Regions from separate parts of the Homo sapiens genome. Here all the other regions are linked to region 4. The links are contacts of gene promoters, found by promoter capture Hi-C in blood cells and fetal thymus (Javierre and others, 2016). All regions are on one chromosome and are shown on one strand. The core of a region is centred on a gene start or on the middle of the fragment in contact, and the rest is flanking DNA. Distances in the headings are between cores, read along the strand shown. Region 1 overlaps PIEZO1 (piezo type mechanosensitive ion channel component 1 (Er blood group)). Region 2 holds the start of RNF166 (ring finger protein 166). Region 3 overlaps PIEZO1 (piezo type mechanosensitive ion channel component 1 (Er blood group)). Region 4 holds the start of CDH15 (cadherin 15). Region 5 overlaps GALNS (galactosamine (N-acetyl)-6-sulfatase). Region 6 holds the start of LOC101927793 (a long non-coding RNA gene). Region 7 overlaps SNAI3-AS1 (SNAI3 antisense RNA 1).

Evidence for each region. Contacts are between HindIII fragments. The CHiCAGO score rates a contact against its expected background, and 5 or more counts as called.
Region 1: a fragment that was not itself captured here is called in contact with the fragment with the promoter of CDH15 in region 4 in 16 of 17 cell types (M0 macrophages, M1 macrophages, monocytes and 13 more); the score reaches 13.8 in M0 macrophages.
Region 2: a contact is called between the fragment with the promoter of RNF166 here and the fragment with the promoter of CDH15 in region 4, in 3 of 17 cell types (monocytes, neutrophils and erythroblasts). The highest score is 7.6, in monocytes.
Region 3: a fragment that was not itself captured here is called in contact with the fragment with the promoter of CDH15 in region 4 in 8 of 17 cell types (naive CD4 T cells, total B cells, total CD4 T cells and 5 more); the score reaches 8.2 in naive CD4 T cells.
Region 5: a contact is called between a fragment that was not itself captured here and the fragment with the promoter of CDH15 in region 4, in 3 of 17 cell types (fetal thymus, M0 macrophages and naive B cells). The highest score is 6.3, in fetal thymus.
Region 6: a fragment that was not itself captured here is called in contact with the fragment with the promoter of CDH15 in region 4 in 1 of 17 cell types (M0 macrophages); the score reaches 5.5 in M0 macrophages.
Region 7: a fragment that was not itself captured here is called in contact with the fragment with the promoter of CDH15 in region 4 in 2 of 17 cell types (neutrophils and monocytes); the score reaches 6.2 in neutrophils.

Annotation. Positions count from the first base shown.
Region 1 is chr16:88,751,309-88,755,474 of GRCh38, forward strand. The region is part of intron 1 of PIEZO1 (piezo type mechanosensitive ion channel component 1 (Er blood group)); the gene reads right to left. Among named protein-coding and RNA genes, the nearest start is that of PIEZO1-AS1, 11 kb to the left of the region's middle. The HindIII fragment of the contact is 1,378 bases long and covers 1,181-2,558 here.
Region 2 is chr16:88,704,334-88,708,396 of GRCh38, forward strand. It overlaps RNF166 (ring finger protein 166), which reads right to left and starts at 2,075. Exons shown (of 6, transcript NM_178841.4): 1 at 1,838-2,075. The coding sequence starts at 1,992. It overlaps CTU2 (cytosolic thiouridylase subunit 2), which reads left to right and starts at 2,170. Exons shown (of 15, transcript NM_001012759.3): 1 at 2,170-2,265; 2 at 2,803-2,877. The coding sequence starts at 2,198. RefSeq lists an enhancer at 1,550-2,187 and silencers at 1,809-2,088, 2,129-2,438. The HindIII fragment of the contact is 28,082 bases long and covers 1-4,063 here.
Region 3 is chr16:88,768,504-88,772,458 of GRCh38, forward strand. All of the region lies in intron 1 of PIEZO1 (piezo type mechanosensitive ion channel component 1 (Er blood group)), which reads right to left. Among named protein-coding and RNA genes, the nearest start is that of PIEZO1, 15 kb to the right of the region's middle. RefSeq lists enhancers at 1-299, 300-883, 1,468-2,051, 2,052-2,635. The HindIII fragment of the contact is 5,586 bases long and covers 1-3,955 here.
Region 4 is chr16:89,169,497-89,173,738 of GRCh38, forward strand. CDH15 (cadherin 15) reads left to right here and starts at 2,252. Exons shown (of 14, transcript NM_004933.3): 1 at 2,252-2,377. The coding sequence starts at 2,336. RefSeq lists a silencer at 1,688-2,327. The HindIII fragment of the contact is 9,317 bases long and covers 1-4,242 here.
Region 5 is chr16:88,851,830-88,855,619 of GRCh38, forward strand. The region is part of intron 1 of GALNS (galactosamine (N-acetyl)-6-sulfatase); the gene reads right to left. LOC107983950 (a long non-coding RNA gene) reads right to left here. Exons shown (of 2, transcript XR_933884.3): 2 at 3,299-3,790. Among named protein-coding and RNA genes, the nearest start is that of GALNS, 3.2 kb to the right of the region's middle. RefSeq lists a silencer at 3,112-3,181. The HindIII fragment of the contact is 3,253 bases long and covers 915-3,790 here.
Region 6 is chr16:88,882,560-88,886,537 of GRCh38, forward strand. CBFA2T3 (CBFA2/RUNX1 partner transcriptional co-repressor 3) reads right to left here. Exons shown (of 12, transcript NM_005187.6): 6 at 3,402-3,583; 7 at 2,487-2,710; 8 at 117-202. It overlaps LOC101927793 (a long non-coding RNA gene), which reads left to right and starts at 956. Exons shown (of 3, transcript NR_135194.1): 1 at 956-1,659; 2 at 2,062-2,285; 3 at 3,183-3,978. The HindIII fragment of the contact is 9,463 bases long and covers 1-3,978 here.
Region 7 is chr16:88,673,513-88,677,587 of GRCh38, forward strand. The region is part of intron 3 of SNAI3-AS1 (SNAI3 antisense RNA 1); the gene reads left to right. Among named protein-coding and RNA genes, the nearest start is that of SNAI3, 11 kb to the right of the region's middle. RefSeq lists an enhancer at 4,021-4,075. The HindIII fragment of the contact is 2,643 bases long and covers 344-2,986 here.

The DNA.
Region 1 (4,166 bases), core at 620-3,119, 420 kb before region 4:
CCATTGGCACCGTGGAGCTGACGCTTGCACCTGAAAGGGTCAGGGGCACACGGCAAACTCAAGAAGCACAGCCCCTCCCTTCCCACTCTCAACAGCTTCACCCTTCCACCCTCCCGGAAGCAGACACGAAAGAATCGCGCTCGGCGCTGCTACGGGCTCAAGGCGGCCTCGGCTTAGCGCACACATCGCGGAGTGCCGGGCTCCGGGGGGCACCGCCCGCCCTGCTGGACACAGCAGCCTCCCCCAGCTCCCCCAGGAGCCCTCCCTGAAGTTAAGATCCCCTCTTCCTCCCATTAACGCACCAAGCATAGCCATCGGCTCCATGCTTTTAAATCTAAAGTTTTTTGACGATTATACATTTTCATTAAAAAAAAAAAAAATCCCTAAGATCTGGCCCAAGAGGCAGGAGGAAAATGCATTCACAGCAAAGGCTTCTGAAGTTCTGAAGTTCTCCACAGCTGCACTTTTCAGCCGGGTGAGTTCTGCCCCAGTCCTGTCCCCAGAGAAGGTGGCACCTCCCCTCTGCACCTGTCCAGCCAGGTGGCAGCCGTCCATGCATCCGTCAGAGCAGAGGAGCTCACGGTCTGACCTGCCAGGAACGTCCAATGCTCAACAAGTGCACCAGGGTTGGGTTCGAAGCCCGTGGCAGGGCACCTTAGTGTGGTGTGGACACCAGGCAGGGCTCCTGGAGTCAGAAGCGTAGGTCCTGGGGATGAAGGTCACCAGACCCTGAGGCTGTGGGGAGGCCAGGGAGGTGGTGCCGTGCGTGCAGTTTCCTTTGGGAAAACGAAGAAGTTCTAGAGATGGGTGTCAGTGATGGCTGCACAACAATGCGAACATGCTTACCGCTGCTGACCTGTGCCCTTCAATGCGGCTAACGTGACAAACTTTAGGCCGGGTGTGGTGGCTGAGGCCTGTAATCCCAGCACTTTGGGAGGCCAAGGCAGGCGGATCACTTGAGCCCAGGAGTTCGAGACCAGACCAGGCAACACAGAGACCCCATCTCTACAAAAAAATTCAAAAATTAGCCGGGGATGATGGTGCATGCCTGTGGTCCCAGCTACTCAGGAGGCTGGAGCAGGAGGATCACTTGAGCCCAGGAGGCTGAGGCCGCAGTGAGCCATGATCACGCTGCCGCACTCCAGCCTGGGCGACAGGGTGAGATCATCTCAGGAAACAAAGCTTTATGGATGTATATTTTGCCAGAATAAAAAAATAACCAGCCCTGAAATCTGCAAAGGATTCTCAGAAGCCCGAGCCTGAGGCTGCAAGGGGCTGGGGCTGGAGATGAGGCGGGTGCAGGGGCTGAGGATGGAGATGAGGGAGGGGCTGGAGCTGGAGGCCTCCCTGACCGCCCTGCCCCTGGCCGAGCCAGAGGGGAACCTTGAGGGGCAGAGTGGACTCAAAGGCAGAGGACGATGGGGGCATGGGAGGCACCTTGGCAGGGGTTCCCCGGCAGGCCAACGTCACCCGGCAGGGCAAGTCCCCTGCCTGAGACCATGACCCACCACGGGCCTGCCCTGGGGTGATCAGCAACACGCCCCCCAGAGTTTGTTCACTCATTCATTCATCCATTCATCCATTCATCCATTCATTCATTCATTCAATACCAAGCAGGCCCCACCAGGCAGCGGGCTTGGTCTAGGGTCCGGGGACATGGTGGACAGTTGGACAGACAGCTAAGGCTTGTCCCAGGTGGCGGCCACTCACCAACAACACAGACAAGGAAAAGGCTCAGAGAGGAAGAGGGCTACTTAGCCCAAAGCCCACCCACCGCCCCCAGAGCACACCCACCGCCCCCCAGAGCACACTCACCCCCGGAGCACCCCTGCCCCCCCAGAGCACAACCGCCCCCCCAGAGCACACCTATCCATCCCCAGAGCACACCCCGCCCCCCAGAGCACACCTGTCCATCCCCAGAGCACACCAGCCCCCCCAGAGCGCACCCAGCCCCCCAGAGCTCACCCGCCCCCCCAGAGCGTACCCGGCCCCCCGCAGCACACCTCCCGCCCCCGGAGCACACCTGCCACCCCCAGAGCACACCCACTCACCCAAGGACGGGCTGAGACAGGAGGGCCCTGGCTGGTCCCTGGCGCCATCTTCTGTCAGCCTTGCCACAGACACCAAGCAGGGGCAGCCTCACGGGTGGGATGAGAAGGGGGCTCAGGGTCACAGCCCAGCCCACCACTTCTCCCATCATCTGGTCTTGGGGTCCTCGGAGTAGCCGGCTAGCAGGGCAGGAGTGAGGAGCACTCCTCCAATGCTCCAATGCCCCCATTTTCAGATGGGATGGGCTCTGAGAGGGGAGGAGCTCCCAAGAGTGGTCAGGACCCAGGTCCGGGCATCCCGGCCGCAGGGCCACGGCTTTTCGAAACACTCCTTGGATCTACCTGTGCTGTCTATGCAGCCGGCAGTGCTCTTGGTCTAAGTGTGTTGATGTGGCCTCAGCTGTGACTTTGTGGGCTAAAGCCAGAGGGGGAGACTTCAGAGCAGGCTGCCTGGAGGAGACGGCATTGCTTTTGGCCCTGAAGACTGGCTCCAACTCAGGGCAGGTCGGAAGCTTCGCAGATCAGGCTCAGGCAGAGAAGGAAGAAATTCAGCCAAAGGGGAGGCGGGGCCTGAGACAATCCAAGGAGCGGGGACAGGAGCCTGCCCTGCCCTGTGGCTCCCATGTTCCCATCAGGAGCTGCCCAGGCTGGGCCTGTGACCCCGTGGGGGTAATGCCTTTTCCTGAGTCAGCTGCAATGGGATGGGGTCAGAGAGAGCTGTGGTTCCCAACCCCCAACCCCCTCGCCTCACCAGCACACGCCTGACTATGGCCCACATCCAGCTCCTTGGGAAGCAGAGAGCCCAGCCATCACCCATCCACAGACCTTCATCCTACAGCTGAGAGGAGCACAGTCAGGAGGGGAGAGGCTGCCCCCACGGTAGCTGCTGGGCCCCTGGGTGTCCAAGGGCTGGGCTGGCCTCTGCTTTCAGTGGGTGCTGGCCAGGAAAGCCACAAATGCCACATGGTGGTAACCAGGACCACACACCACTCAACCGGAACATTCCACAAAGAGGGCTGGACACCACCCACTCCCACTGGCACATAGGAAGACCTGCCAGGGGATGTCAGATGCCTGAGCCCCCCTGCCAGGATCCAGTTCCTGGGATGAGACCCTTGCAGCTGACCCACGCCCGGGTGGGAGAGGAGAAACTGCCCAACCCTCGTTCCCTGTGGTGATCGAGGAGGAGCTGTCTGGCCTCCTCTAACACGGGCTGAACCAAGCCTGACGAGGCCTGAAGGACTGTCACAGGGAGGGCTGCCGGATGGGGCTTTCACAACCTGGACACCTCATACATGCTCCCTCCAGGAGCCACACAGAGACCCAAGGCCAGGATTTTGAGCAGGGGGGCTCCGTGAAACAGCCGGTGCGGCCTGTGTGTGACCCCACACTGCCGGGGCCCGCAGGCCAGCGCTGGCCGAGAGCAGGACGTGGTGCAGAAAGACTGCGGCCCACACGGGTGGGTGACCCGGGACCCACAGGAGCTGAGGCTGCATCACAGAGCAGGCAGAGACGAGCTGGGGGCATCGTGTGAACGAACGCCCCGGCGTGCCGTCCCGCTCCACGCCTGCACAGGAGCTGAAAGCTGGGGCCCCAGGCCCAGCAGCTGAACCTCCCACCCGAGGACACCTGTTGCGCCCCAGGGAGAGGAGAGGCCTAACCAGAGGGTGGACACACCTGCGGCCATCAGGTCACCGCCGCGGCCATCACGTCACCGCCGCCCCCAGTGCAGGCACGGGGCTGGGTGATCTGTCCCGTACAGTCCTGTGGCACTAGCCGAGGACCACGACTGTCACCTCCACATTGCAGACGAGGAGATGGAGCAAGCCTGGGATGCGGCGAACAGCCGCCCCCGCCGCCCCCGCCATGTGGCTCGGGCCTAGCTGGCTGTGGGGACAGAGTAACTTTATTTAAATGCTAATCTGCTGATTAACCCCGGGTCTCGGAATGCCTCCAGACTGGCTGGTTGATGCATCATCTTCCTGCAGGAGCACCTACTCCCTGGCATTCACGTGCAGGAAAGAAAAAAAAGAGTGTCTAGTCCTCGTACGTTTCTTCCTAAACAAACCCGGTGCTGCAGCAGGAATCTGGCCACCCCACCCGCCACGTTCCCAGCCA
Region 2 (4,063 bases), core at 825-3,324, 470 kb before region 4:
CAAAGGCTGTGTGAAAAGCTCTTGCAGGACCCGCGGTGAGACTAGGATGGTCGTCATTCTACCAAGAAAAGCATGGCAGAGGGGAGTTTTATAGGAAAGATGCTCCACAATTCCATGTGGTTCTGCATTCTGTGTTATGGAAACTACATTTTAGGAAAAGACATATTTGAAAAAGAAGGGCAAAGACCAATTTGTGCAGGTTAGGAAAGTGGAGATGCTGTGGCCGACCACACGGTGAAGGTGTTGGCACCCAAAGCCTACGGGAGGCTTTTCTAAAACAAGGCCTAAGTCAAGCCTCACAGCGCTCAGTAACAGATGAGAAGGTGCGGAACACACCTTCAAACACCCGCTACCTGCTCACAAGAAGGAAGTCCTGCCAGGCGCGGTGGCTCACGCCTGTCATCCCAGCACTTTGGGAGGCTGAGACGGGCAGGTCACCGGAGGTCAGGAGTTCGAGACCAGCCTGGCCAACATGGTGAAACCCCTTGTCTACTAAAAATACAGCAATTAGCCGGGCGTGGTGGCGGGTGCCTGTAATCCCAGCTACTCTGGAGGCTGAGGCAGGAGGATCACTTGAACCCAGGAGATGGAGGTTGCGGTGAGCCGAGATGGCGCCACTGCACTCCAGGCTGGGTGACAAGAGCAAGACTCTGTCTCAAAAAAAAATATTCCCGTTCAGAGGCTGCCCCCCCAAAATGTCACGGCTAAGTGAGATGGAGGAGCAGGGGCAGAGCCTGTAGCAGCCTCACAAGAGAAGTAGGTAGAGCTGTCCCAGCGTGGGCAGGCGCCTGTGCTGCCTGACACAGGTAATGAAGGCAGCTCTGCATCCTGACACTGGCCCTGCCACCTCCGTGGGTGACCAGCACACATCCACCTAGCAGTCCCAGCTCCCTCTGTACCAGGAGCCCCTGAAGTCAGCTGACTTTGCTTGCAAAATGTTCTAGAGCCTCCTACCAGTCTGGGTGCACCCCCCTCCACTCCACCACCTCAGCAGCTTGGATGTCTGCGGGGAAGCCCTCCTGCTCTCTCTCTCCCCTGCCACTGCTGATTTTGCTCAAGAGCTGTATTATTCAGCACTTAGGAGGGAGCAGACACTGATCTAGGCTTCCTCCCAACGGGGCTGGCAGCTCCAGAATACTTGAGCACAGCTCCCCGCCAGGAGAGCCACGTCCTCCAGTTTCTGTTCCTGAAACACCCTGGAGGAGCCGGCTGTGAGCCCTGGTGCAGCTGGAAACCCCAGCAAGGTGGTCAGTGTCTGCTCCTCTGTGGACCAGCCTGCCTGGCTACTCAGTGATCGGTGTGACTCAAGTTCTCCTTCAAACAAAACTAAGAACATCAGACTCCAAACAAGCCCCTCTAAACTTTAGGGAACTCCTTTCCTCTGTAGTCAAAACAGGCAGACAGCGGGTCCGAACAAGAGTTGATAGCAAAAACTACAAGTTATTTATTTACAACTGCCCATTCCAGCCGCACAAGCCCAAATCCACCACCACTGGCGGAGCGGTGGCACCTGCTGCCCTCTGAGTACCGGAGCGCCCGCCGCAGCCGCCGGGGACCCCGAGCTTGGGCAGGGCCGCAGGTCGCCCGGTGAACCGAAGCAGCAGTCGGACCGGGCGCCTGCGGCTGGCGCGAAGGAGGCTGGGCGGGGGATGAACGCGCCCAGAGGGCAGAGGCGGCGCGGCACAGGGAAACCCGGACCCCACGCGCCCCGAGGCCCCGGCGCCCCGAGTCCCCGCGCGCCCAGTCCGGAGCTGCACCGGGGCGGCCGCCGGCCTCGCGACCCCTCCCGCGGCGGGGCACGGCCCCCTCCCCGCGGCCCCTGGGCGGGCGCGCTCACGTGTGGCCGCAGCTGCCGATGGCCACGGGCCGGTGATAGACCTCCAGGCAGATGGGGCAGGTGTACTGCGCCTCCAGGCCGCTGTCGCCGCCCGCCGGCCCGGCCGGCGGCTGCCGCTGCTGAGCCGAGGCCACCAGGCTGCGGAACATAGCCATCCCGGGGCCAGGCCCGCGCCGCCCGCCGCCCGCTGTCCTGGCCCGGGCCGGCCCGCTAGTCACAGCCGCTACTGCGCCGCGCTGACGTCATCGTAGGGCGCCGCCCCCAGCCGGGCTTCGCGGCCGTCACGGCGCCACTCCGACGTCATCGGGGCGCGCCCTCGCGCTGTCGCCGCCACAGTCTGCGACGGGACCCGGCGTGCCCATGTGTCAGGTGGGCGAGGACTACGGGGAGCCGGCGCCTGAGGAGCCGCCCCCGGCGCCGCGGCCCAGGTAAGAGCTGGCGGCCGGACCCGCCAGGCCGCCCCTCGCCTTCCCGCCGCACTCCTGCCCCGAAGGGTCCCGGCCGGGCTTGCTCCGGGAAGCCCCGCGTGGAGAGCGGGACCTCGCTCCCTAGCACTCGGGGAATGCCTGTCAAGCGGTGACGGCCACCTAGAAGGGGACTTACTCCACTGGCTCGCGCCTCTCATCCTAGCAGCCACTGGGGACGGCTCTGCCGCTGACAGTGCTGTCCTTATTCGGAGAGAACTGGTGCCGTGAAGCTGTCTCGCCTCCCCGTGTCAGCCTTGGGAGACTGAAAAGCGGCCTTTATGTGCCCCCTGAGCCGGCTTTTCTAGGCTAAACATCCCCCCAGAGCCTTTGTTTTTCTTGAAGTTTGGACAGAACACAAGCCTGGGTTTGTGTGTGTACCGAGGTGCCTTTCTCTGACCCAACTCAGGGTGAGAAACAGGAGCTGTCTCCCCAAAGCCCACTAGGCGTGGGGAAGATGTGATCTGTGTTTCTCTCTTCTCCCCCCTCCCATCTCCAAAGCCGTGAGCAGAAGTGTGTGAAGTGCAAGGAAGCGCAGCCCGTTGTGGTGATACGAGCCGGAGATGCCTTCTGCAGGTGAGGCCTGGAGGTGGCTGAGACCCTGGCAAACATGGCCTCGCTAGCAGACAGGATAGCCGCAACTTGTGATGCTTTGTTAATTCTTTTTAAAAACATGTACTTACTTTATTCCTGCTCCTGATGGGGTCCCTCGTGCCCCTGGTGTTGAAGTGGAGGCGAAAGCATTGGTTTCCTGCTTGGGAAAGTTTCCCATGAGCTAGCCACAGATCCCCTGATGAGGTTTCTGATGGAACTTATGGGGACAGTTGGAAGTGGGGCCGTGGTGTCTAGACTGGGATAAGCTGTAGGAGGACCAGGCGTTTGGGGGCAGCTGGAATACATCTAGGGGCGGATCAGAGCATCTTGGGAACTTGGCAGATGGTCTGGGTGAAAGTTTTTAATCTCGTGTGAGATGCTTGTTTCATCTGTGGCAGGATAGAGGCTTGGAAGACCTCTAGCTTTCCCCCAGGCGCTTGTCATGTCTTTCTTGGCTTGTAGCCATTGTATTGTTCAGTTGTTTCCACTAGACTCATAGCTCCCTGAAGGGAGGACCAGGTCTCTCTCCTTTTAGCCCTCTTAATTCCCAGTGGTGGTGCGTGGTTTTTTTGTTGTTGTTGTTGTTTTTTTTGAGATGGAGTCTCCCTCTGTCACCCAGGCTGGAGTGCAACAGCTGGAGTGCATGATCCCAGCTCACTGCAACCTTTACCTCCTGGGTTCAAGTGATTCTCCTGCCTCAGCCTCCTGAGTAGCTGGGATTACAGGTGCCTGCCATCATGCCCGGCCAATTGTTTTTGTATTTTTAGTAGAGACAGGGTTTCACCATGTTGGCCAGGCTGGTTTCGAACTCCTGACCTCAAGTGATCCACCTGCCTCGGCCTCCCAAAGTGCTGGGATTACAGGCATGAGCCACCACACCTGGCCAAGATAGGTACTTCTTTAACCACCCAGGAGCATCTGAAATTGCCAAGAACACCAGGCTGCCGGCAGAATTCACTGAGGAGAGGCTGCTGTGGCTGTATGCTAGGCCCTTGTGGCCAGAAGGGCTTTTGCTGTGCTTGCTGGTCCCAAGGAACAGTGGGGAGCCGGCTCTCTAGGGGAAGGCCTTAGGAATCTACATCGAGCTGGGATCCCCAGGGATCATTCAGGTCAGCACGTGGGAGAAACCTTGGCCTTCCCTGACCCACAGGGGACAGCGTGGTTTCAG
Region 3 (3,955 bases), core at 500-2,999, 400 kb before region 4:
TGTTTTTATGGAAAACTAATCCAATTCCTAACAGCAGAGCGAGCAGCCGAACTCCCGGGGGTCCCGGGTGGCCCTGACAAGCAGGTTGTGGGCGGGGGCTCCCTAGTCCGTGGGGCAGGAGCTCGTCCACAGGGCAAGAGCGCTTCCCTCTCAGCCGCTCCTCCCTTCTCCCTGGGGAGAGGCCAGGATGGATGCGCCCTTCCTGGCAGTGAGGGGCTGGCTGACCGTCCCCACCCCTGCAGCCTCAGCCAGGCCCTGCTCCCTTCTAGGCCTCGGCCAGTCTGGGGTGGGGGCGGTGCCCACAATGGGCAGGCCAGCGACACCGCGAGCTGCAGGGCCCAGTCCGGGGCACAGCAGTATTGTGGCTGCAGACCATGGGATCTGGAGCCAGAATAGCCATGGCCGGGGCCGGATGCACCTTGGCAAAGCAAGCTGGGCCTCAGTTTCCTCATCTGTACAGTGAGGACACCAGCCCTATTCACTGCAAAGGCCACACACTGAAGTACGCTAGGACACAGCAGCACCCGCGCCCACACTTGCTATGCAGAGTGGGGGCCCCTCATCCAAAGGGGCCAGAAGTATTTCCAGTTTAGGATTTTCTGGATTTTGGAATATTTGCACACGCATAATGAGGTATCTTGGGGATGGGACTCAACACAAAATTCTACTCACATTTCAATATATACCTCGTACACATACCCTAAAGGCAGTCACATAATTTTGTGTAAATAATGACGGGGGTCTCACTATGTTACCCAGGCTGCTCTCAAACTCCTGGCCTCAAGTGATCCTCCCACCATGGCCTCCCAAAGTGCTGGGATTACAGGTGTGAGGCCACCACGCCCAGAGCATACTTTCAATAATTCTGGCTTCTGACTGTGACCTGGCGTATGAAGTCAGGCCTGGAATTTTCCGCTTGGATTTAGATTTCGGACTTGGGGACTGGGATGCCCAGGCTACACCATCCTCGCATTTTCCTTACCAATATGAAGACAGACCTGCGGAACGCCTCGGCAGCAATGGAGCTGTGGGACCGGTCCCGCCTCCTCTCCTACCACTGCACATGACCGGAGCCCCCACCTCACATCGGCCGGCTCCATTCCTGAGGGTCAGGGCCAAGCCTGGGGACCTGCAGCCTCCAGTCAGCACGCAGGGAGCAGAGCAGGGAGAGGACCCCGGGCCTGGCTGTCACTGCTTCCTCCTGAGGACCTGAGCCAGGTCTGGGGCTGAGGCTCAAACACAACATGTAGCTCTGGTGGGCGGAGCGTGGTGGGAAACAGGGAGGGGCCAGGGTGGGCGGGGCCAGGACGAGCCTCATGTCACCTCTGCTAGCTCAGAGCTGGCCCTGCTCCTGCGCAGGTTAGAGGGAACAGAGAGGCCGGCATGGGGCGGAGTGTGGTTAACAGATCCCCTAGGGGGTCACACCCCTTCCAATGCCACATGGCGGGGCAGCAGGGGGCTCTGAGGCCCTCCTAACCTACTCCAACCTGGAGGCTCGGGACCCCCACGCCTCTGCCCCTGAGAGAGGAAGTGAGGGACTGTTGACGCATGGCCCGTCCCCAGGGAAGAGGACTGATGCCTCCCAGGGTGTTCTCCCTGCCCACACGCCCCAGCCCCTCCCCACCCTCTCTCCAGGCAGAGAGTGCACAATCCGGTCTTCCCAAGCCTCGGTCTGTCGGGACAGAACCTGCCAAAGCCAGAGGAGGCCTGCAGGCAGCCCCACAGGACGCCTGGCAGGCGGCTCCCAGGACGTATCCCCGAGACCTCTCAGCCTGATGCCTGTGCACAGCCCGCTCCCCCATGACCCGGTCACACCTGCCCCCCAGCCGGGCCCCGCCTGCATCACTTTCTGGCTATGGACTTGGGAGCTGGCTCGACCTTTAGGAGTCTGCAGTTCCTGTCTGTGGGGTGGGGGGACGGGAGCGGCTGCCTGGCCAGGCTGTAGCGAGGATGGCACGGTGAAGAGTCCAGAGTCTGCCAGGACACTGAGCAGGGCGTTCTCCTCAGGGGCGGCTCCAGAACTGCAGTCCATCGGGAGAGGTGGCCGTTAGTGCGGGGGCCCCGCCATGGGCGGTGCCTGCCTGGGCCGCTCCCTTCCCCCTCAGCCTGAACACGGTCCTGGGTGGGGGTACTCTCCCGCCAGCTGCCGAGCACGTCCACCACCTGGTGCCTTCACTGCCAGTGACTCAGCCAGGCCGGCTGGCAGCCCAGCCGCACCAAGTCACCCTGAGCACGCCCCACGGTTCCCACGGAGCAGTCAGGTCCGGGCCAGGCGTCCTCCACTGGGCCCCGCGCGGCCCTGCCATAGGTGACACCAGCCACCACCAGAGTCGCTGGGCCTCATGTCCTCACCTGGGAGGCCAGTGAGGTGCCCTGGGGGCTTGGGCGAGGAGCTCTAACTATAGGAATCCGGTGGGCGGCACTGGAGAGACTCCCTGCCGTCACATGCCCTGAGCGCAGGGGATTAAGAGGCTCTGGGCCCTCTCATCTGCAGGCGGGGCCTGGGCGGAGCAGCTCCACCCTATCACGTCTTGCTCTGTGTTGCAAGGTCCTTCCGCCCCTGTCACTTAGCAGGTGGTCTCAGTCCCGGAGAGCCAGAGCCGTGAGGCAGAGCAGGGCAGGCGCTAATCTCACAGGGAGATAAAAATCAACCGTGCGAAAGGCCCCACAGAGCGACCGCTACTGGCACCGGGCCCAGCCTTGCAGGAACTCTGCACCCAGTGACCCCCCCTTGGGAGGTCCAGACCAGTTCCACTCTTAAGGACGAAGTGCTGGAGGCTCAGAGAGGCTGAGAGATTCACCCAACCACCGGCCCAATGGTGCTCAGCAGCAGAGCCAGGACTGGGAGCCTCATCTGACTACATACAGCTAGGAGTGCGGCGACAACAAGAAACCAGGCCAGGCGGGGCTCCCATCCCACCGCCTCCCTTGCCCTGCAGGCCCCAAGCCCAGCAGGCAGGGTAAGGAGCACACAGCTTTCTTGACTGGGGGCTCGGCTCCCCACGGCTCACGCAGCTGCTGGGCTCAGGGGCCACACACGCCCAAGCCTGAACCTCAGCAGGGCCACTCGACAAGTGCCCTATGACAGTGTCCAGCGGAGGTCCCAAGCTAGCCATGGGGGTCCCCCTCAGCCCACAGTCAGAGCAGGGCCATAGGGAGGTGCTGGGTGGGACAAGGTTGCAGAGGTGACACTAGTGGAGCCGACGTCCAGATGCCCGTCCACCCGCGGCCCCAGGCCCTCCTGAGACTCTATGCCCGTCCACCCGCGGCCCCAGGCCCTCCTGAGACTCTATGCCCGTCCACCCGCGGCCCCAGGCCCTCCTGAGACTCTATGCCCGTCCACCCGCGGCCCCAGGCCCTCCTGAGACTCTATGCCCGTCCACCCGCGGCCCCAGGCCCTCCTGAGACTCTATGCCCGTCCACCCGCGGCCCCAGGCCCACCTGAGACTCTATGCCCGTCCACCCGCGGCCCCAGGCCCTCCTGAGACTCTATGCCCATCCACCCGCGGCCCCAGGCCCTCCTGAGACTCTATGCCCGTCCACCCGCGGCCCCAGGCCCACCTGAGACTCTATGCCTGTCCACCCGCGGCCCCAGGCCCTCCTGAGACTCTGGTCAGGATGCCTGTCCACCTGCGGCCCCAGGCCCTCCTGAGACTCTGGGCATGGCTGTCAGAATGACCATCCCTGGTGCCATTGAGACCCCAGATCCAGCACCTGTGTCCAGCGCTGAAGTCCCAAGTCTGTGTCCAAGCTCAGAAGGAGGGCCCAGAATCCCAGACGTATCATGGCAGCAAGTGAGCCGGGGGTTGGGACAGGTAAGCAGGCTCTTGTGGCTTAGCCACCAGCTCGGAATATACTTTCCATGTGGACATGAGGCCCAGGTGCCAATAACCAACAGCCACGCTGGAGCTGAGGGCCCTGGGAGCCTGCAGGCCCCAGCCCACAGGCAGGTGGC
Region 4 (4,242 bases), core at 1,002-3,501:
GTGCGTCCCCCGAGGTGGAGAGTTGAGGTGGGCAAGGCAGAGGGCAGGAGTGATGGGGGTGAGTCCCAAAGGCTCAGGACTGCAGACTCTGGAAAAAGGAGGAGAAGGCCCAGAGTGGGGTCCTAGCTGGAGGCTTGGGGTGCTGAGGGAGGGTCCGGCGTCTCCAGGTCCACCAGGAAAGGGAAGGGCTCTTCTAGGGCTGATGGTCCTGCAGCCGAAAATGTACCCCTGCCCCCACTGCACAGGACCTCCAGACTCAGGGTACCCAGCCCTTCCCTGCCACCTACCTCTGACACAAGGAGAAACTGAGGCACGGGGGAGAACCTCCAGCCCAAGGCTCCGAGCTGGGACTGGACCCAGGCTCCTGCCTCCTGACCTTCCTGCTGCCCTGGGAGCATGTGGAGCGGGGTCCCTCGCGGGGGCACCTGCCCCTGGGGGATAGCCCGCCAGCCAGGGAGCACACCCTCCCGCAGTGGTTAAGCCGGCTGCTTCCCTGGCCCCGCCCTGCATTTGGGGCTCACCCAGGACCTGGCCCAGCTTAGCCTTTCCCTTAGAGACCCCCACATCCCATGGAGGAGGGATTTGGCCTCCGTTTCTCCCCGAGGTGGGTGGGAGGCAGGTGGCTGAAGCGAGGTGGGTGCAGGGTGGAAGCGGAGAGGAGCTGGGGTTGGCAGACCGCAGCCTCCCCAGACCTCTTTCTGGGGGGAGGGCGAGCACTTCTACCTCACCCCTGCACTAGTCCCGTGAGGATGAAAACCAAAAGCACTCAGAGGGCTTCTCCACCCCTATTTTGAGGTCACTGACCACAGAGGCAGGATGGTGGTCCCCAACAGGCTACACCCCAGCCCCAGAGGCCTCCCAGTCTGGAGATGGACTCCCTGCCCTCTCTCATCTTGGAGCAGTGAGCGCTAGGGACAGTCCTGGCCTGAGCCTCCCGGGCAGCCTGGCCTCCTTTCAAGCAGGCCAAGTGCACAGATGCTGCCTGCACCTGCACAGCCACCCGCCGTCGACAGGAGAGCAGAGGTACCGGGTCTGCTCCCATCACAGAGAGGAACGGGCTCCCCGGCCCGGCCCTGGGCTGGTCGGCAACCCCCACTCCCCACCCTGCCTGCTCAAAAGAAAGGATCCTCCTGCCTCCAGCCCCCTCCACCCCCTCTCCAGGACCTTCCTGACCGTGCGCTGGGCCTGTGCAGGTGTTGAGCCACACCCACACCATCCCAGGGGGCGGGGTCTCGAAGGGGAGAACAGGTGCCACAGTCAACAGGAGGGAGGGCTTCTGGCCGAGGTGGCAAGGAGGCTCCAGGAGGCGGCAGCGTTGACCTTGGGTGTTGAGGGATGATGAGAAGGAGTTCTGTAGGAAGGAAGGTGCTCCAGGCAGGGGGCCTCGGGGAACAAGGGGATGCTGGAGGAGGTGCGTGGACTGGGGGAATTGGGGGTGTCCTACGAGCCACGCTGGTATCAGAGGCGTGTGAACCAGAGCAGTTCCATACTGAATAAGAGCTGGGCAAAATGAGGTCGCGAGGAGGTGCGTGGAAGGCGGGCCTAGCGTTCAGTGGGATGCGGGGAGGCGCAGGAGACGCAGCCAGAGAGGCGAGGGGCCCAAGGAAGTGCTCAAGAGGTGTCCCCCGGCAGGGACTACAATGCAGATTCCCTGGAGCAGGGGCGAGCCGGGCCCAAGGAGCAGGAAATGAAGAAGCCAGGAATCCCAGCTGGTCCCTGACCCGGACGCACCCACCCTGCCTTCCCCACAGCCTGGCCTCTGGCTCTGCTCCCAACGCAGCAAGCCGGGGTATCTCCGACCTAGCCCTGGCCCTGCCCGCCGGAACCCCGCAAAAGCTATCACTCAGCCCTCGGCCCCGCCCCGGCCCCACCCCGGCCCCACCCCGCACTCTCACAAGGTGTCACTCAGCCCTCGGCCCCGCCCCGCCCGCCCCATCCTCCTCTGGCTCCGCCCCACCAGCCTCGTGCGGTCACCGCCCCGCCGGCGCACCTGCGCTGTCACTCAGCCCTCGGCCCCGGCCCCGCCCCGCCTGCCCCACTCGCACACGGGCTATCACTCAGCCTGCGCCCCGCCCTAGCTCGCCAGAGGCTCCGCCCCACCCGCCTGCCAACACGCTGTCACTCAGCCTTAGCCCTGCCCAGGCCGGCCCTCGGCCCGTCAGAGGCCTCCTTCGTGCTGTCACTCAGCCCTTGCCCCGCCCCCTCCCCGCCCCCCTCACACGTGCTGTCTCTGTCTCTGGCCCTGGCCCGCCCCGCGCACTTGCGCTGTCACTCAGCCTGGACGCGCTTCTTCGGGTCGCGGGTGCACTCCGGCCCGGCTCCCGCCTCGGCCCCGATGGACGCCGCGTTCCTCCTCGTCCTCGGGCTGTTGGCCCAGGTAAGGCATCGGCACCTGCGGGGGTCCCCGCTGCCTCCCTCGACGCTGCGGGACAGTGTCTTCAACTGCAGCCGCACAGGTCTCCCCCAGAACCACTGGCCCTGGTCGCCTTTGGGGGCCTGTGAGCGGAGTGGCTCCGGGTGGGTCCCTGGGCTGGGGGCAGCACCCCAGGGGTTGTGGGGAGTGAGTGTAACCAAACACTCCATCTGGTGGAATCACCCCCAGGACTGCAGAGTGCTGCTGGGGTCAGGGACCCCAGGCAGGGGCCACCCAGGTAGCCGTGCCCTCTCTTTGGAGGAACCGCTGCCGGGGTCTGGGGGTTGCCAGTCTTGAGTGGAGCAGAGAGAGGGGGGAGCGGCAGGAGTGCCCCTCTCTGGGGGGCTGGGGGCCAGGTTTCTATAGGGACTCCCTGCGGTGGGCACAGGACCCCTGGCTAGTCTTGGGTTTTGTCCAAACCCCCCACCCCAAGTTCCTGGCCAGCAGGGGTGGCTGCAGGCCCTGCCCCCAGGAACTCACCCTCACGGCTACTTCTCGATTGGGAGGGCCCAGCCCGAGCCAGGTCGCAACACACGGCCTTGCAGAGTGGCGTGTGGCAGCCCTGGGGGCTCTGTTCCTGGGCTTCACCTGGGACCCTGCCGCAGCTGCCTGGGGTGATCAGGCCTGGGGGCCCAGCCCCCAGAGGCTGCTGGACTCTGCCCCTAAAAATCTTGTCTGGACTGCTGGCACCGTGGTCTCTCCAACGTGGGAGCAAGCCAGAGTGGAAGGAAGCCCAGGCCTCAGCCCCCCACACCCGACATGGGTACTGCCTAGCTGGAGCCACGTCTCCTCACACCCTAGGGGGACCTAGACATGGAGGATGTGGCCTCAGTGGCTTCAGCCCCCAGGGACTGGGCTGGGCTGGGGCATGGCCGGCTGTGGTTGGGACGTCACTGGGTACAAGAGGGCAGCCTCTCTCTGGCCAATTCGAGAGAGAATGCACATAAAGGGCTTAGCGGTGCTCACAGTATTCATTGCTCTTGTGGTCCTGGGGTGGTCAGGGAGTGCTGGACACAGTGAGTAAGGGAAGCCACTCCTTTCCCAGCCCCCACTGAAGGGGCTTCCTGAGTCCCCTCATTCCCACAGGCCTCCCAGCTCCAGCTGGCTCCAATTTCAGCCCCTGGCAGCTGACCAGGCGCCTGGCCAGCCAGACCCTCCAGCAGCTGCCCCTGAGGGCACCACGGCTCCTGCCACCCCCGACTCCCCCATCTGGAGACAGTGGTGGGGGGAGACAGTGGCTCAGCATGCGTGCTCACCCCCCGGCCCTCCACCCCTCAGCCCTCTGCCGGGGAGCGCAGGCTGGGGGGCTCCATGCCTCCAGGGCCCTTCCCCACCTGCTCTGGGGACAGGGTTTCTTCCCTGGCACCCCAACCCAGGGCATGGTGGTGGGGAGGCTGGCGCCTGTGAAAACATTCCTCCAGACCTCTTCCTTTGGATTTGGGAGTGTCTGCCTTTCAAAAGGCCCCAGGGGGCTCTGTGGCAGGTGGGGAGGCAGGCAGGACCTCTCCCTCCTCAGAAGCCTTCCCTCTCACTGTCCCTTCTTTTCTCGCCCAGGGCTGGGGGACAATAACCCCCTCCCCCGACAGCTGGAGGCTGGGGGAGGTGGTGGAGGTGGGGGCCAGATGGCAAGGGGACTATCGCCAAGGCTCAAATTCACTCCACTGTGAGGCAAAATATGTCAGTGTCAGGACCCTGCCTGCCCCTCCCCCAGCAGCTCAGCTTTCAGGACTGTGAGCTCTCCTGGGCAGCCTTGGGGTCCTGGGCCGCCTCCTGGTGAGCCCCCAGGCAGGCAGCGTGGGCCCATCAGGGCCTTCTACAAGTGAGGGGTT
Region 5 (3,790 bases), core at 1,291-3,790, 320 kb before region 4:
TTGAGTAGGTAAACAAAGCGGCAGGGAAGCTCGAACCGGGCAGAGCCCACCGCAGCTCTGCAAAGCCTGCTGCCTCTGTAGACCCCACCTCTAGGAGCAGGGAATAGCTGAACAAAAGGCAGCAGAAACTTCGGCAGACTTAAACGTCCCCGTCTGACAGCTCTGAAGAGAGCAGTGGTTCTCCCGGCACAGTGTTTGAGCTCTGAGAACGGACACATTGCCTCCTCAAGTGGGTCCCTGACCCCCGTGTAGCCTAACTGGGAGATACTTCCCAGTAGGGGCCCACTGACACCTCATACAGGCAGGTGCCCCTCTGGGACAAAGCTTCCAGAAGAAGGATCAGGCAGCAATATTTACTATTCTGCAATAGTTGCTGTTCTGCAGCCTCCACTGGTGATACCCAGGCAAACAGGGTCTGGAGTGGACCTTCAGCAAACTCCAACAGACCTGCAGCTGAGGGACCTGACTCTTATAAGGAAAATTAACAAACAGAAAGGAATAGCATCAACATCAACAAAAAGGACATCTACGCCAAAACCCCATCTTTAGGCCACCAGCATCAAAGACCAAAGGCAGATAAAACCACAAAGATGGGGAGAAACCAGAGCAGAAAAGCTGAAAATTCTAAAAACCAGAGCACCTCTTCTCCTCCAAAGGATCGCAGCTCCTCGCCAGCAAGGGAACAAAGCTGGACAGAGAATGACTCTGACGAGCTGACAGAAGTAGGCTTCAGAAAGTCGGTAATAACCAACTTCTCCGAACTAGAGGAAGATGTTTGAATCCATGGTAAGGAAGCTAAAAACCTTGAAAAAAGATGAGACGAATGGCTAACTAGAATCAACAGTGTAGAGAAGACCTTAGATGACCTGATGGAGCTGAAAACCATGGCACCAGAACTACGTGACGCATGCACAAGCTTCAGTAGCCGATTCGATCTAGTGGAAGAAAGGGTATCAGTGATTGAAGATCAAATTAATTAGCCGAGTGTGGTGATGGGCGGCTATAATCCCAGCTACTCAGGAGGCTGAGGCAGGAAAATTGCTTGAGCCCAGTAGTTTGAGGCTGCAGTGAGCTGTGATCGAGCTACTGCACTCCAGCCTGGGTGACAGAGCCAGACCTTGTCTCAAAAAAAAAGTCCTGGCTGGGTGTGGTGGCTCATGCCTGTAATCCCAGCACTTTGGGAGGCTGAGGCAGGCAGATCACCTGAGGTCAGGAGTTTCAGGCCAGACTGGCCAATATGGTGAAACCCCGTCTCCACTAGAAATACAAAAATTAGCTGGGCACGGTGGTGGGAGCCTGTAGTCCCAGCTACTCGGGAGGCTGAGGCAGGAGAATTGCTTGAACCTGGGAGACGGAGGTTGCAGTGAGCTGAGATCACACCACTGCAATCCAGCCTGGGTGACCAGAGTGAGACTCCATCTCAAAAAAAAAAAAAAAAAAAAAAAAGGCCTAAAAGCCCCCAAATGATTGTCCACGTTCAGCGAGCACAGCTGTGAGCCATGGATCAGTATCCTTCAGAATTTCAGAGTTTTAAGAAACGCAGTTTCCATTCCTACTGGTTGCTATGGGATTATTATGAAGACGAGCAGGCCAGTGCTTGTCTGTTTCAAACGAGGGGCACTGAGCAACCCTCCCCGGACTCTGGTGGCTCGACGAGGCTGCTGTGGCAACAGGAGCTGGCCTGGGTGGCCCTGACTCTCCACTTCCTCTGTGGTCAGGGCTGACCCTCCTTAACCCTATTTTCCAAATAAGGAGTGGAGACACAGAGTGCTGCTCGCCCTGGGAGGCAGGAGCTGTGTGTGGGCCAGAGTGGAACTTGTCACTGGGTCTCACCTGTCTCCAAGGCCCCAGAAGCCCTGGAGAGCAGAGTGGGCCACGCAGGTTTCCTCACTCACGCAGCAGGTGCCCAGGGTACTACGAAGCCAGGCCGCGCTGGACCGTGGGTCAGTGAAAGGCCAGGGCAGGGCAGCCCTGGGGAGTGCAGGTAGACCCGTCCTTGCCCGGCTCAGCTCCCCCTGGACAGGTGGGGGCTCTTGCCAGCTGCTCTCACCCCTGAGTCCCAGCTTCCCCTTCTGGTCCCGACTCTGGGGGCAATGGTTCTCTCCCGGGTCAGTGTGACCAGTTGGAGAGTGGCTTCTGGCCATGAGGGGTGCAATAAGCTAGTTTTGGGGACAACCCTTTTCTGAAACTGCACTTGCTTAGACGAAAGGGGGGCCCAGGCCCCCCACTGCCCAGCCACAGAGGACTGGATAGGGGGAGACTGGGCTGGAGGCAGCCGGTCCCTGGAGGGCCATGCTCCAAAATCTGAACTTGAGACATGCACACTCGTCCTCAAGTGGTGCTGGGCCCAGAGCTGTGGGTCATCAAGCCATCCCATGTCATGCCAGAGGCCGAATGACCTGTTGCAGGTTCAGACGCCAGCGCCCTGGCAGAAACAACCGGTCTGCAGTGCAGGAAGAGGTGTGGACAGGGCTGCGGAGGAAGCCCCGGACTCCAAGGAGAGAAGACAGCCTGTGAGGACCCCCTTGCACCCTGGGCCACGTCAGGGCACCTCGGGGCTCCACTGTGAGCTTCTGTGGCTCTCACCTGCCAGCATCCCTGCCCTGTCCTGGCAGCTGCACCATGGGCCCTTCAGGGAACCCCCTCTCTGCTGGGTCCAGGCAGATGAGATGATCAGGGGCAGTCTCCCTTCTGGGGTAGGCCCGAGGCTCCGAGGCCTGGGCTGGACAGGTCAGCATGTGCCCCTCCCCCAGTGTGCTTGGCGCAGGGCTGAGACCCACATCACGCTAACATGACACGGGCAGAGCCAACCTCCCACTGGGTCTGCTGACTGCAGGGGTGACTTGGAGTCACCTAGGACCATCACAGGCTGAGTGAGGATGTGGCCAGTTCAGAGGCAGCAGAGCCACGAAAGGGGAAACTCGCCAGGCGGCCCTGGTCTGTCGACTCAGGAGGGCCAGGGAATCCCCACTGTTGCTTGTCACTTTGACTTCATCTTCTGCTGTCTGCATCAGAAAGTCCTTACAAGTACACCTACCGGCCAGGACACAGCTCCTCTGGGGTTCTTTAGGCGTCAGCTGCCAAACGACCCCACAAGCCACACAGTGGAGGCCACAGAACAGGTGCCCAGGTGGGCGGGGCTTCCTGTCACCCTCCCCCACATGTGCCCCGGTGGCCACACCCCACCCCTCCACCCTGCACGGCCTGAACCCTTGCTGTCCTATGGAAACGTAGGGTGAGTCCACATGCAATTCCCTATTTACCGGGAGCCACATTAGAAAAGCAGAAGTAGGTGAAATACAGACTAACTTTATATTTTATTTAACCCAACATAACCAAAATATTATTTCGACAAGTCTTCAACATAAAAAATTATTCATGAGCTGCCCCGCCTCACCCCTCTGTCCTCTGAGAAAGTCAGGAAAAGCAGAAACTTAACAGGGAGGCTTCACCTGCAGAGCCCAGCTCATCCAGCGAAGCTATGCTGGCCCAGAAGGAGTTACACAATGAAAAGAAGAAATTCTGAAACAAAGTATCTACACTGGCCCAGAGGAACTTCAAAAGTGAAAGGATGAAATTCTGAAGCAAAGTATCTTTAGGAGGGAGATGCCACTCAGTGCAGAGAAAGGCCCGGCTACTGCTGTCAGGACACGGACCCCTGGGCGCTGGAGAGCGTGCTCTGGAAAGCAGTCACTGCACACAAATAAGACATATGAGATGGAAAAGCAGCTGCCCAGGACTGTCGGCTGTCACCCCTGGGTGGGGAAATTATGGGTGGTGTCTGTTATCT
Region 6 (3,978 bases), core at 680-3,179, 290 kb before region 4:
GTGGGCATGGCTGTGGGCGTGGCTGTGTGTGCATGGCTGTGTGTGCGTGGCTGTGTGTGTGCGTGGCTGTGCGCCTGGGCATGGCTGTGTGGGCGTGGCTGTGTGTGGACACTCACGTTGTTGAGGTGCTTCCACTCTTCTGCCCACTCACGCTCTGTGAGCTTGTGGTCGATCACTTCTTCCTGCCGGGACCCAGGCACCACTGTGGATGGGGGAGGTGCACGCTTAGGTCCCACCCACAGCCAGTCTCTGCCCTATTCTCCCAGACCCCGCCCTCTGCTCCCAGGCCCCACCCGTGGGCTGTGCCCGCTGGGGACGATGGACAGGGTAACCGAAGGGCTGGTTGACTTGGTGACCGTGGAGGATGCCTGGGTTACTGAGCCGCCTGGGGCTCTGGGCCGACTGCTCTTCCCCTGCAACACGGCACACGCCTCCAAGGGAGGGTTCAGTCTCAGTCCCATTCTGCAGCTGAGGAAACTGAGGCTGGTTAAGAGGATGTGTTTGCCTGTGGTCACCAGGCAGGGAGCGGTGGGGGTGGGGTGTGGACCGAGGCTGGCTGGAGCTGGAGCAGTGTCCTCAGCCACTGGCCGGGAAGGCTTTGTTAGACTAAGCGTGGCCTGAGGATGCCTCAGTGCCAAGTCACACCATGACCTGGACCTGCCTTAGTCCGTGAATCAATGGGTAACCTCACTGGGAGGAGCTGGTCTCAGTCATTCGCGGCAGCCCTCTGCGGTCACCCGCAGGCGCCCATGACTCCGATGAAGCCACGCCAAACACCACCCAACCACGTGGCCTCGGCACCCGCCTCCTGTCTCTGCCTGTGAACACCGCCAGCCAAGCCGAGGCCAGGGCTCTCGGAACACGCTGGCTCTGAGGCCCATCCTATTCGGGGTTGTTCTCTGCTCAGTTAAACTCTGTTCAATACAGCGTGTCTAAGGTTTTTCCCTTTTGACAGGCTCCAGGACTGAAGCCGCAGAGGCCACTCCCACAGGTCACCAGAAACTAAGACGTGAGTGACGCCCGGCAGTGGCCGACTCTTCCGCCGTGGCTGTGCCCATGGGAGACGTGAGTGACGCCCGGCAGTGGCCGACTCTTCTGCGGTGGCTGCGCCCACGGGAGACGTGAGTGACCCCGGCAGTGGCCGACTTCCACGGTGGCTGCGCCCACGGGAGACGTGAGTGATGCCCGGCAGTGGCCAACTCTTCTGCGGTGGCTGTGCCCACGGGAGACGTGAGTGACGCCCGGCAGTGGCTTACTCTTTCGTGGTAGCTGCGCCCACGACTTCTGGAGACATCAGAGGCTTCCAGGCCCCACTGTTTTCTGCATTTGGCCACTGCCCACGCTTCTGGGGCTGAGGTCTCCCTCTTGGGGCCCTTTTCAGCCCCTAAAGATCTCCTAGCCTCCGAACCTGAAATGGCTCCCCCAAATTGCAGAGGAGGTGGGGAAGTGGCAGCCACAGCTCAGTCACCAGCCTGCTCTGCCGCCTGTGAAGCTGCAGCTGGCAGCAACACCCCAACCAAAATAGTGGCTGAGACGTGCCCGACAGCTGGCGTTTATTTCTGTATTAGCAGAATCGGGTGGGAGTCAGCACCTGCCTGACCCGGCTGCAGCATGCCAGACGCCGTCACCTGCTGCCTGGGCCCTGGAACCCTCCGCAAGGTGGGGGCTGGGAGATGGCCTTGTGTAGGGCAAGGCCTCTGCTGACCCTGCTGCTGGGCCCCCACCGGGCCCTGGGCCTCTGTCTCAGCATGGCAGACTGGAGGCCTCCCTGCAGCCTGTCCTGGGGGGGCTCCTGGGGTGGGGCTGGGCCTGACCATCTCTGGGTTCTCAGCACAGAGGCCGTCAAAACGTCAGGCAGGCTGGGCTGTGAGACTGTGGGTGCATTATGTGTGCTCTCAGGCCTCAGTCTCCTCATCTGTGGTATGGGGGTGCTGACGCCACCCCACTGACGGGCTCAGAAACGAGTGAAGGATAAAATGCACCGAGACTCCGTGCCCACCTCTCTGTTATCCACACCAGCCTGGCCTCACGCAGAGACTCTGTGCCCCTCTCCTGCTCTAGATACCAGCCAGGCCTCACGGCAGCCCTTGCTGGGCCCTGCATTAACTCCCCCAGGCCTTGGACTCTGAGAGTTGGGACTCTCGTCTGGCCCAGGTGACAGAGGAGGAAACTGAGAAGCAGAGAGCCACGTGACTCACCTGTGGGTGGACTGTGGGAATCGCCAAGCTCGGATGAGAACCACGTGGGCAGTTCCAGGCCCGAGGCCGCCCACCCCGGGGGGAGAGGTGGGTTCAGGGCCCAGGACAGGCCCCTCTGCAGCCACCGCTCTGCTCCAGGGGGAATGCCAGGCAGGGGGAAGGGGTCTCCCGAGCTCAGGTGCACACAGCTGCCCGTGGTGCCCTGTGCCCACATGCTCAGGTGTACATGTGGGCGCATGTGTGCTCCTGTAACACGCGTCCACGCTCCCGCCCCACCGGGCTGCTCACCAAGCGGCCGATGGCGCTCTCGTAGCTCCCGGGGGTCTGGGTGGCGGTAGGCATCTCGGAAGTGGTGGGCCATGGCTATGTCCTCCAGGCGGTAGTGCGGCGGCGGTGTGGGCTGCGGTGGCCCGTTGCTGGGGCTGTAGCGCTGGGCAGGGTTCAGGGTGCATGGCCGTTTGCTGAGGTGCTCGGGGTGCAGCGGGTCGCGGTCTGACCCGTTCTCTTTGGTCCTAGCCCCAAGAGCAGGTGGGGCGAGGGCAGTGGACATAGGATGAACCGGGGACAGAGGTGCAGGTGGGGTGAGAGGCAGACAGGCAAGGGCAGAGAGAAAGAGGACACGTAAGGGCGAGACAGAAACACGGAGCAAAACACCAGCCCCGGGAAGCCCAGCCCGGCGCCCCCACTCTCTGCCCCTCTGCCGGGGCCCATGCCAGCCTCAACCCCTGCTCCAGCTGCATGGCATCCTGGGGCCTGGTGGTCAAAGAGCCGGACTCGCTGCTCTGGGAACGAGGAGAGGGATACACCAGGCTTCCGTAACTGGAGACCACCTGCCCCTTGGGCAGCAGCAGCACAAGAGCGTCTGGGGCAGCAGAGGGGGCCCAGCCCAGGCACCTGGGGACCATGGACCCCGGACGCTCGGAGTCCATGCCCGGCACACAGGGGAGAGCCGTCCTCCCACCAGCCTCCTCCCTGTCCTCCTAGGCTCCCCGGAGCATCTGAGTCTGCAGCCCACTGGGGTGTCCGCCCGTGCAGCCACCAAGCCTGCTGGCCCTAGTACACCTCGCCACGCTCCCTCAGCCCGAGAGAGCCGGCCGGGCTGGCTGCAGCCCCAGAGGAGGTTCCCTCTCTTACCCAGAGGGGAGCAGGGTGAGCCGCGTGTCCACGGCACCCCCAGCCCAGATCCCCGGAGCCCACAGGTACCTGTCGGGCGTCCTCCTCTTGCCGTTCTCGTTGACTTCCAGTAGCAGCTCTGAGGAGTCGATGGGGGAGGAGGCGCTGGCGTCCAGCAGGAGCTGCTCATGCTGGGCCAAGTACTGGGCGGGCGTCTGCTTGGCCAGGCGTGCACAGTGCAGGAGCTCCCGCTGCAGCAAGGGCAGGTTTGCCTGTGGGGTGGGGAAGGAGGGCCTGGGTAGCATGCAGGGGTGCACAGCCCTGCTCAGGTCCGAGCAGAGGGGGCCTGGGCTGGGTGGCCGAAAGCTCAACTTGACCTCGGGCCTCAAAGGTCAAGGTGCTCGACCTCTCTGGGCCTCAAGTTCCTTCCTAGCAGTGCCATGGGAGGGTGGCGTGGGAGGGTGGGCACAGAGCTTCGCAGGAGTGCCTCACCTGGGCCACACGGCGATGTGGGGCATGTGGGACTTGAGCCCAGATCCTGGACTCCCAGGGTGGGGCTTTCCCACCGCACCCAGCTCCCTCCCATGGCGTGGTCTGGAGAAGGCGAGAGGACGAAGGGGCAGCAGATCATGGTTGGTCTTCCCGCCTGCACCCGCCCTGCCCAGCA
Region 7 (4,075 bases), core at 415-2,914, 500 kb before region 4:
ACTGCGCCCGGCCAGCCTTTGGTTTTTCTATGGCTTACTTGGAGTTCTCTTTAATTCTGACATAGAAGTTCGCACAATCCCTCTTTTACAGATGAAGAAACCAAGGCTTTGTGACTAACTCAACCCCTCAAGAAGGACAAAACTAGCATCAGAGCCCCTTGCTCCTGGGTCTGGCAAGAATGCCTCTTGTTTGCTGAGAGGTCCACAGATTTACCCGGCTCAAGACTGGGAGATGGGAGGTGACCAGGTCAGTGCCAGCCTCTCTCTGAGCTCCTCTGAGTCGTGGCAGCTGAGGTGCTCCTCCGAGAATGTTCTGCCATCCGTGAGGTCGTGTACGCCTGGAAGCTTTTGTTCCATTGAACTCTGCCAGGGAGCTATACTTAGCCACGCGAGTGGAGGCCAGGAGTGGGTTCTCTGAATATAGATAGTAGCAAGCAGGCTATTTTCAAACACCTAGAGAACCCCCATGATTATTCTGGGCCAAAATGATATTTATAGGATGCTCTGGGCCCTTGGACATGAAGGCAATAACCTTAGCGCCTTTTGGCGTTCGGGATAAGTTTCTATCAACGGGGAGTGGAGAGAGGGACCCGGTCACCCAGAGGCCCGCTGTCCCTCAACACCTGTTTCCAGGAGGCCAGGCGTCTTCTTTGCTTTTACACTATGAGTCAGAGAACAGCGAGAGGCACGCAGGGCCCTACTAATTTTCCTTCCTGCACACCCTGGTGTGGGTCCTGTCTGAGGCCTGCCGTGTGCTATTAGGGAAGACGTCATCAGGGGACTTTTTCTGCTGTGAGGAGGGTGCAGCCCCTGCCTTTCAGAGCTCAGGACACCCTCTTCCTCTTGTCCAGGATCCTCAGGGATTTCCTAGGCTTCCACCCTCACCCAGACATCACTGGACCGTCACTGAAACACCCGCTTCCAGTGTGCTCAGGTCCTGCAGCCTCCTGTCCATCCTTGCCCCGCCTCCCGCCCGGAGGAAAGACTCTGACACTGCCCCTGGAAGAGGGAGGAGAGTGGATGTGATGAGTGAAGATTTGGGTGGGGAAAGGAAGGCCTGAGTCCTGGGAGGAAGAGCTCTCCCCGCCCCGAGCCCCCGGAGACTGTGAGCAAGGCTGAGACGCCTCCTTCCTGGTGCTCAAGCTGCAGGTGTTGGATAGGCCTCCAGAAGCCCAGATTTTAAATGACCGCTCCAGGTTAACCTGGGGATGGTCAGGCAGAACAAGGAGGAGAGGCCAGCAGTGAAGGGCAGGGCTGGTGGGCAGTGGCTGGGGGTGTCCTGGGTGGGGCTGGCCACCCTCGCTGCCTCTGACTTGGGCCAGACCTGCGTTAAGTGGAGTGGCTCCTCCATTCTTTACACCCCAGGCCCCTGGCAGGTGCCCTGCCTTTCCTCTGCCCCTCTCTCTGCCAACCCATCCTCTCCCTCCCAGCCCCTGCCCGCCCAGATATAAATATAAGAGCATTTTCCATGGGCTGAGACAGAAGGGAAAACATTCAGCTTTATTTTCGGCTTGTGAAATTCCTGTCCTTCATTCCCAACAGGTGCAATCGCCTCATTTAGATATTGGGACCCAGAAATAGAAGACAATTTACAATATAGCTTCCTTTAGGGATCTGGATGCTACCAAACAAACAAACAAACAAAAAAAGCCCTCCTGTGAGATGCCGAGACTTAATAGAAACCGTGGTTGGAGCTCTTGCCTTTTTCCAGGCCGGTGGAGACCCTCACCCCTGGCAGCCTGACCGTGAAGCAGAGGAGGCAAGAGCTCCGGGAGACAGTCGGGAGGGAGGGGGCCCTGGAGGACAGGCTCCTAGCCCTACTCCTCCTCAAGACCCGGGTGCTGGCCTGTCCCCTGCCTTTGCCCCGATGGGGATGAGGGAGAGGAGATGGGTCAGGGAACAGCTATGGCCATTGGGGAAGGTGACTTGGATGCAACCTTTGAAAGAGATGCTTCCAGTAAACCCCATCGGTTAAGATCAGCTGTCCCCCATGATCCTTTGTGTGTGTTTTTTTGTTTTCACACAGGGTCTCGGTCTGTCGCCCAGGCTGAGTGCAGTGGTGTGATCTTGGCTCACTGCAACCTCCACCTCCTGGGCACAAGCAATCCTCCTGCCTCAGCCTCCTGGATAGCTCAGACTACAGGGGTGTGCCACCATACCCAGCTCATTCTTTTGTATTTTTAGTAGAGACAGAGTTTTGCCATGTTGCCCAGGCTGGTCTCAAACTCCTGGGCTCAAGTGATCCACCCGCCTTGGCCTCCCACAGGGCTGGGATTACAGGAGTGAACTCCCATGCCTGGCCCTCATGATCCTTTGTAGACTGAGGGACAAAAGAAGAGGGTGAGGCCTCCCCTCTCCTCAGCGCTGAGTGCAAGGACCCTCAAGGCAACTCTTGGCAAAGCCCCATGTTTCCACTGGCTGTTTAGGTGGAATTGCGTCCCCCCGCTTCCGTATGTTGAAGTCCTAATTTTCGGGCCCTCCGCTTGTGACCATATTTGGAAGTAGAGGCTTTGCAGATGTCATGAGTTAAGATGGGGGCCTCCTGGAGCAGGGCAACATGACTGTATCCTCATAAGAAGAGGAGAGACAGAAACAGACACACACAGGGAGATGCCACGGGACTCCCAAAGCCACAAGAAAGCCTGGAACAGCCCCGCCCTCACAGCCTCTGAAGGAACCAGCCCTGCCTTCACCTGGATCTGGGACTTCCAGCCTCCAGGACTGGGGGAGAATGAAACTCTGTTGTTTCGGCCACTCAGGCTGGGGTGCTTTGTTATGGCAGCTGAGTGGGTGCCTCCCTCTCTGGGGACGGCCAATCCCTGTAGGGGAGGCAGTGGTCCCGGTCCAGGAAGGTGAGAGAGGCTTTCTCAGTGTCTTCACTTCGCCAGCTCACGTGGAGACTGGTAGCGGCTGGAGCCCAAGCTCTTCTGGGGAGCCGGTTTACTCAAGGTCACCCTTGATCCAGCGGAGCCCAAGGTCTAGGTCAAGCTTCCTCTGGGATGTCCCCAAGGCTCTTCAAACAGGTGTCGTCAAGCCATCTGCCCAAGGGCCCGTCAGCACCTGGCAGGTGTTAGCCAGGCTGATCTGCAGGCGGGGCTGCCCCGAGTGGGGCTCCCACTGCCCGGGTTGGGACTGGAGCAGCCAAGTGGCTGAGCAACAAGGTGCTTCATGTGTGGTCCCTGTGAGCCCCCCTGAATAGTCTCATGGACAGACGGATGGACGGGAGGCTCAGTGGGCTCTGGGAGCAAGGGGAGCGCTTGCCGCTCTCCACGTGGCTCCATTCCAGGACCAGGACAATGATGTCTTCCTGTCTGCAGCCAGAAGCAGGGCAGCTGACAGCGGCCCAGCCCTCCTGAGGGACAGGTGTCCGCTCCCAGAAACCTCCCTTCCACCATCCCCATCAGCGAAGGTGTCAGGGACTAGGAGGGGCCTCCTTGCTCCTTCCTGGACGCTGCCCCTGGGGTTGAGCTGGAGAGGCTGAGACATGCTGGGAAGAGGAGGACCAGCCCAGTGGGCGGCCGCCCAACAGCTCGGCGGTGAGAAGAGGCCACGTGTAAGAAGGAAACGCCACCACCCCACTGGATGGTGGGAGCAGGACTCCAGGGAGGGGGGTCTTGAGTGTAGGCAACCATGTCGATTTGGCACAGTGTCTCAACAGGGCAGGGCAAGGGTCTGGGATTCCAGTTCACGGATGCCCCAGGTACCATGGGTGGACAGAGGCCCAGACCCTCTGCAAGACAGCAGTGATCATGTCAGACCCTCGCAGCGCTTGAGGGCTGCAGCAGGAGCCCTGAGTCCTCTGTTCTGACCAGGCAGCAGGGAGGACTCGCTGCCCCCAGCTGCACAACGCCTGCCCCGGCCTTGGTCTTGGCCCTCTACCCGGCACCAGCTGGAGCCTCTTGGCCATTCCTCTGTGCCATGGGACACTCTCCCACTCCTGCGCTGGCTTCTGCCCACAGTGGCGCCCCTGCTCACCCACTGGCAGTGTCCCCACCTCTCAGAAGAGTTTTTCACAGTGGCAGGCCCTGACCCAGAGTCTCCTGCCTACTTGGTGGCTAAAGGCCCCAGGCGATCC